Linked DNA regions of Homo sapiens: region 1 is linked to region 2. Evidence: promoter capture Hi-C in 16 types of primary human blood cells and fetal thymus (Javierre and others, 2016). All regions are on one chromosome and are shown on one strand. The core of a region is centred on a gene start or on the middle of the fragment in contact, and the rest is flanking DNA. Distances in the headings are between cores, read along the strand shown. Region 1 holds the start of RAB9A (RAB9A, member RAS oncogene family). Region 2 has its middle 72 kb from the start of EGFL6.

Region 1 (2,874 bases), core at 27-2,526, 190 kb before region 2:
ACCACAGCAGACACAAAAATACTAAAAGCACCAGACTGCCACAGCATTGTCTTAGATTTAGGAATCCAAATAACTACTAAAGTTCTAGAGAAGCAATCATGATAACTTCATAATCTTCTAAAGGAAAAACTAAAGGCTGGCTTCTTAAAAGTTCCTAACTGAATCGTTCCAGGTTTCTTTATCTCTAGTTTTGCTACACTGGACAGCTTCTGAGAGTACAGGCAATGTAGGGATTTTCCATTACAATGGTGCCAGAGACCGAAGGACAAACACATTTTTAAAGAAGCAATCAAATTCTGCCCATTGATTTTTATCAGGACGCTAAAATCCTATGAAAAGATTGTGGTCACGTGCCGATTTGGAAACTAGCAGAAAAGTTATTCCTCAAAAGAACTGTAGTCACGAGATGTGTCATCCCTTACCAAAAAAAAAAAAAAGCAATACGTCCACCAACTATTTATTAAGTTCAGCACTTAAATTTCTCATTTTGCCTTTTTACTTACCAAGTTGGAAGAAAAAAGGGAACGCGATTGTGAAACGTTAGCCAGCGTCTGAATCAGATAATGCCCCCAAAACGCCTGCAGCCTCTAAGATTGGCTTTACTTTCCGAATTCCTCACCCGAGTGGTCGTAAGACATCGAGCAAACACGTTCTGCTAGGTGGAACTTCAGAGGTCGCCAAAATCAAGTCATGGGAGCGCCTTTGTTTTCCCTACATTAATCATTCGGGTGTAGGATTTGGTTTGGGGTCTGTGGATGTGTGTCCCGGAGTGGTTGGGGGAAAGGCTGGCGTGTACGTGTGTTCCCAGGTGACCGGGTGTATTTCTCCGTGTGTATGTGCACGGGTGTCCGGGCTTTTGTATCTCCCTTTCTCCAGTGTTTGTGTGTGTTTCTGTGAGTCCCTCTCCCCAAGGGTGTGGGGACCGTCTTTCCTCCTGCGTCAGAGAGGAGGCAGGGAGACAACCAGCCGTCCTCTCTCCCGGGGCGGCCTTGTGACCCGCGCTAGCCCCGCGCGCACCGCACCCCGCCCCAGCTGCCCGAGGCCCGAGCCGCCCCCTCAGACCCCGACACCCGCGCACTCCGCCCGGTCCCGAAGGAGTCCCGAGTCCCGCTCACCTCGCGGCCACACGAAAGACGACCCGGGAGCTCTGGGCCGGCCCGTCTGGGCGCAATGAGGACAGAGAGAGGGTCGGGGACCTGCACAGCAGGAGGCAGCCGCGGTAGCGCAGCCAGGCTCCCGCTCCAGCTGCTCCCGTCCAGCGCGGAGGGAACAACATGGCGACGGGCCGGGGCGGGGCCAGGGAAAAAGCGGGGCGGGGCCTGGAAGGCGGGGTCCCGCGGCCGAGACCCTGGGGGACGGGCGCGGGGAAGGTGGAGCCGAGGCAGGCGGGGCCTGGATCGTGCTTTTCCTTCGGGTCGATTGCTCCTGAAGTGTCCTCCCGTCTGCGTTCGGGCGACAGCGAGTACGAAATAACTGTCATTTTGAAAAGTTTACGTAAAGTGGAAATAAACAGACCTCATGAGCACAGTCACAGGATGTCGTGATTACAATGATAAAAACGACTAGTCAAACGGACAAAGAACAAACAGGTGGATGAAAAATGAAAACAGTTGTGATACTGTGGAAAAACAAGAACTTTTTAAATGAAGCTATTAAAACTTTCCTTTAATCTTGTTAAAATACTGCCTCTGTCATCTCTGAATAGAAAGCGATGGTGCAAAAGGTGGTATTGGAGAAGCTCTCCTTAAGTCCTTGCTTTATGTATGAAGTTGAGTGCATGGATCCTATGATACAGAACCCTACAGGCGGGAGGGACTCATAGGGACATCTCAATACGTTTTGTACGGTGATTTAGTTTGTTTATCAGAAAACCAAATACTGCGTGTTCTCACTCATAAGTAGAAGCTAAATGATGAGAACTCATGGTCACATAGAGAGGAACAAGAGACACCAGGGCCCACTTGAGGGTTGAGGGTGTGAGGAGGAAAAGGAGCAGAAAAAAACTAGGTATCAAGTACTATGCTTATTACCTGGGTAACTAAATAATCCGTACACCAAGCCCTTGCAACAGGCAGTTTACCTACATGACAAACCTACACATGTACCCCTAAACCTAAAATAAAAGCTTTTTAAAAAAGATTTAGTCTGTTTATTTTCCAAGACAAAGATCTCACTTTTATGATGCTGGGGCTCACAACAAGTTAAATAATCTCCAGCTTTTTGGGGAGTCATTTTCAGGTAATGACTTTTCATTCAGCACTAGAAAGGTCATGTTTGAGAAAGTTCCTCACAAATTAAAAAGGCAATTTTAGAATGCTTCTGAAAACGACACATAAGCTTAAATAATTGTTTTCTCATAAACAGAAATCTATTTCTTATCTGCAGGTCATTTCCCCAAGGAAATATGTATAAACGTTTATAAAATACAAATCTGTTAAATTGGGGGGAAGAAGAAATATACACTATCTTGTTTTAAAACACATATTAAAAGTACACAGTAAAACATTATATATGAACACTAGAGTTAATTTTCCAATAGAAAAAAAAGTCATGTACATTGGGTCAAATTGCAACAAGCAATCCACAGGGTAATTAAAGAAATGCCACCTGAAAATCGTATATCCTAACCATAGTCAAGGAGTGATCAAATAGGAGTTTATCTGTGCAACTGCTAATGCCAACTAGCTATTAACAAGTGATCTCATAAAATTATTGTATTTTGAGTTAAAATAAACCTTGACAAACCCAACAGCTTTCATAAAAATGTTCTAAGAAGGTTCCATAAGTGACTCTCAGGCTGTTCCAAAATGTAAGAAGGCATTCAAACATATTTGAGTGTAGCTTATAGTACCTTAAGAAAGAATAAGCTTAGAA
Region 2 (3,021 bases), core at 18-2,517:
TGAGAAGGATCTGATGTGAATATGAAAACTCATGCTGCTTGTAGTTCTGAGAATAATGAAGTCTCTTTTGTCTCTGACCCAAGAGTCTCATATCTTTTGCCAGAATCCATGAAACTGTGGCAGACTAACTCATGAGACTGCTAGTAGGATCAAATCTCAGATCCTTCACAGTTCTTGACTCTGACAATGCCATAGTTTCATCCATTTCCCTGACTTGCAGTTTGATATACTGGTTTGAAGTTGAGATGTGGTTTCTTTTGGAGGAGCTATGTAACAGCATGCTGGAATGAATGTAAGAGACACTAATGTCTATATTCAAGGCTCAATCATTATCAATGGTTGAAAGTGAGATGTTATGGCAGAAGTGGAAGTTAAGGCTATGAGAGTTCAGATTTAATTCATATATCTTTTGAAGAAGCATTGTAGAGTGGTTGCTAAACTTTGAATTGAGATAGACCTGGGATCAAGATCCAATTCAATAACAGCAGTGTGAGCAAGTCCTTAATCTCTGCATGTGTCAGTTTCCTGACCTGTGAAATGGGAAGACAATATAATTTACCTCTGTGGTTTTGGGGAAACATTTAACACAGGGGTGGGAAATAAATTTCTGTAAAGAACCAGGTAGTAAATATTTCAGGCTTTTCAGGGCCCCACAGTCTCTGTGGCAACTACTCCCCTCTGCCAACACAGTATGAAAGCAGCCATAAGCAATACAGTAGTGAATGGGTTTGGCTGTGTTCCAATAAAACTTTATTTACAAAAACAGGCAGTATGCCAGATTTGGCCCTTGGGCCATAGTTTGCCAGCCTGTGACATAGCAACTTACTTGGCTCACTGCCGGTATCTAATAAAGGGGTTCTTCTATGTCACCCACTATAGTTTGTATTTTTTTTTTAAATATAGATTCAGGGAACGTGCAAGTTTGTTACATGGATATATTATGTAATGGTGGGTTTTGGGCTTCTAATGTAGCCATCACCCAAATAGTGAACATAGTATCCAATAGGTAATTTATCAACTCTCATCCTCTTCCACTTCCCCCTTATGGAGCTCCCAGTGTCTATCATTCATATTTCCATTTTTAAGTCCGTGTGCACCCATTGTTTAGCTCCCACTTATAAGCGAGAGCATGTGATATTTGATTTTCTGTTTCTAAGTTATTTCAGTTAGGATAATGGCTTCCAGCTCCATGCATGTTGCTGCAAAAGACATCATTTCATTGTTTTTTTATGGCTACATAGTATGCCATGGTGTCTATGTACCATATTTTCTTTATCCAATCATGTGCTGATGGATACTTAGGTTGATTCCATAACTTTGCTATTATGAATAGTGCTGCAATAAATATACAAGTGCAAGTGTCTTCTTAATATAATGATTTACTTTGGGCAGATACCCAGTAGTGGAATTGCTGGGTGGAACGGCAGTTCTATTTCTCTCTTCACATCATATAAATCTTTCACCATTTATTATGTTGTCTGTACTTGTTACTTCACTTAATCCTTGATGAGGTAGCTAATGTCTCCTTTTTATAGACAAGGAAACTGAGGCTCAGGGAAGAGAAACAATTTGCTAAATTCCCATGACTGGGTAGTCAAGGTCAATTCAAACTCTGGCCTTCTGACTTTAAGCCATTATTTTTACCAACATCCTGTGTTACCTTTGGACAAATATCTCCATTCCTAAGAGTTTTAGAGGCAAACCTCAATTTTGTTTGGGGACAAATTCTTGTTTGTGGGTGTATGTACATGTATAAAATAAGGTTTGAATTATACAAACCAATGATCACCAAAATCCTTAATGAGATTCCAGCTACGGATTCATAGGCATTTTTAGTTGTCCTATCCACACCACCAAATCTGATATATTGCAGAGCATTTCCATCAAGAAAGAGGGGGAAGTACGCTCTACAAGAATAGTGATGAGTAGGGAAAAGAAGGTTTCCCTGTCTACTACTTGGGTTGGGAGTTTATTACTTGGAAGAATCCAAAGTGAAGTATAAACCCAGGGTCCATCTGAAGAAAAAAGTTAACATTTTCTTATGGATTCAAATATACAAGGCCCTGGCCATGGCAAAATTCTGGAAGGATGATATTGCCTGGATAATTACTATATGTCAAGCAAATTATAAGGTGAACACCAGTTAATTATCATTAGAATAAAGGTACCATCAAAGCGAAAAAAAAAGACAAGAAAAAATCCCACCAACATCTTGAGTGATTATCATTTAGATATGGAATCATAGATTATGTACATTTTTTACACTTTTTCATGCTTTCCAAATTTTCTACATGGAGAATGGGTTGACTTTACAAACAGACAAAACCAAGAAATGTCACAAAACTTATTCATGTTGAATTTGTAATAGCAAGGGAAATGATTCTGTCATGATGTTAAGGATACAAAGTGACACATAGAAATATATTTTCTCTTTGTGTAAAAATAAATCTTGGCAAAAACAAAAAAGACTAGAAGAATATTAACAGAGGTAGTATAGGGATGTAAGTCTTTTTTTTCTCTTTTTTTTATTCTTTTGTAGTTTCCAGATTTTCTATAAGGAATATATGTTATGTTTAAAACTTTTTAAAATAAATAATTTAAAAAACAAAGCTGATGCTATTAAAAAACAAAAACACACACAAAAAGCTGATTACAATTTTGGCCTCAATTGCTTCGCTTCTGCTCTGTTCATGGAGCAACTTTTGCTTCAGCATGATCCCCAGTGCTCCAGACCAATCCTGCATACAGGCAGGAATTGTCTCAGTGAGTCCCATAGTATGTTAGAGGTGGTGTGTGCGCATGCACGTGTGTGTGTGTATGCATGCACGTGTGTGTGTATGCGCGCATGCACACACGTGTGATGTTAGGGAGAAGGGAGAGTTTCTCTTTGTTGTAAAATCAGGGTTCCTATTTTTCAGACTCAAGGTGCAGTGTCCTGTTGCTTATTACTGAACTCAGTAACGTTTTCCATGTCACCACCTCCCTCCCCCATGGCATCTCCACTCTGTTAACGAACATCTT

What was found. Contacts are between HindIII fragments. The CHiCAGO score rates a contact against its expected background, and 5 or more counts as called.
Region 1: a contact is called between the fragment with the promoter of RAB9A here and a fragment that was not itself captured in region 2, in 1 of 17 cell types (non-activated CD4 T cells). The highest score is 6.7, in non-activated CD4 T cells.

The regions. Positions count from the first base shown.
Region 1 is chrX:13,687,530-13,690,403 of GRCh38, reverse strand. RAB9A (RAB9A, member RAS oncogene family) reads right to left here and starts at 1,276. Exons shown (of 3, transcript NM_004251.5): 1 at 1,116-1,276. RefSeq lists silencers at 967-1,126, 1,137-1,376 and an enhancer at 1,527-1,576. The HindIII fragment of the contact is 3,610 bases long and covers 1-2,127 here.
Region 2 is chrX:13,496,136-13,499,156 of GRCh38, reverse strand. No RefSeq gene overlaps it. Among named protein-coding and RNA genes, the nearest start is that of EGFL6, 72 kb to the left of the region's middle. The HindIII fragment of the contact is 4,972 bases long and covers 1-3,021 here.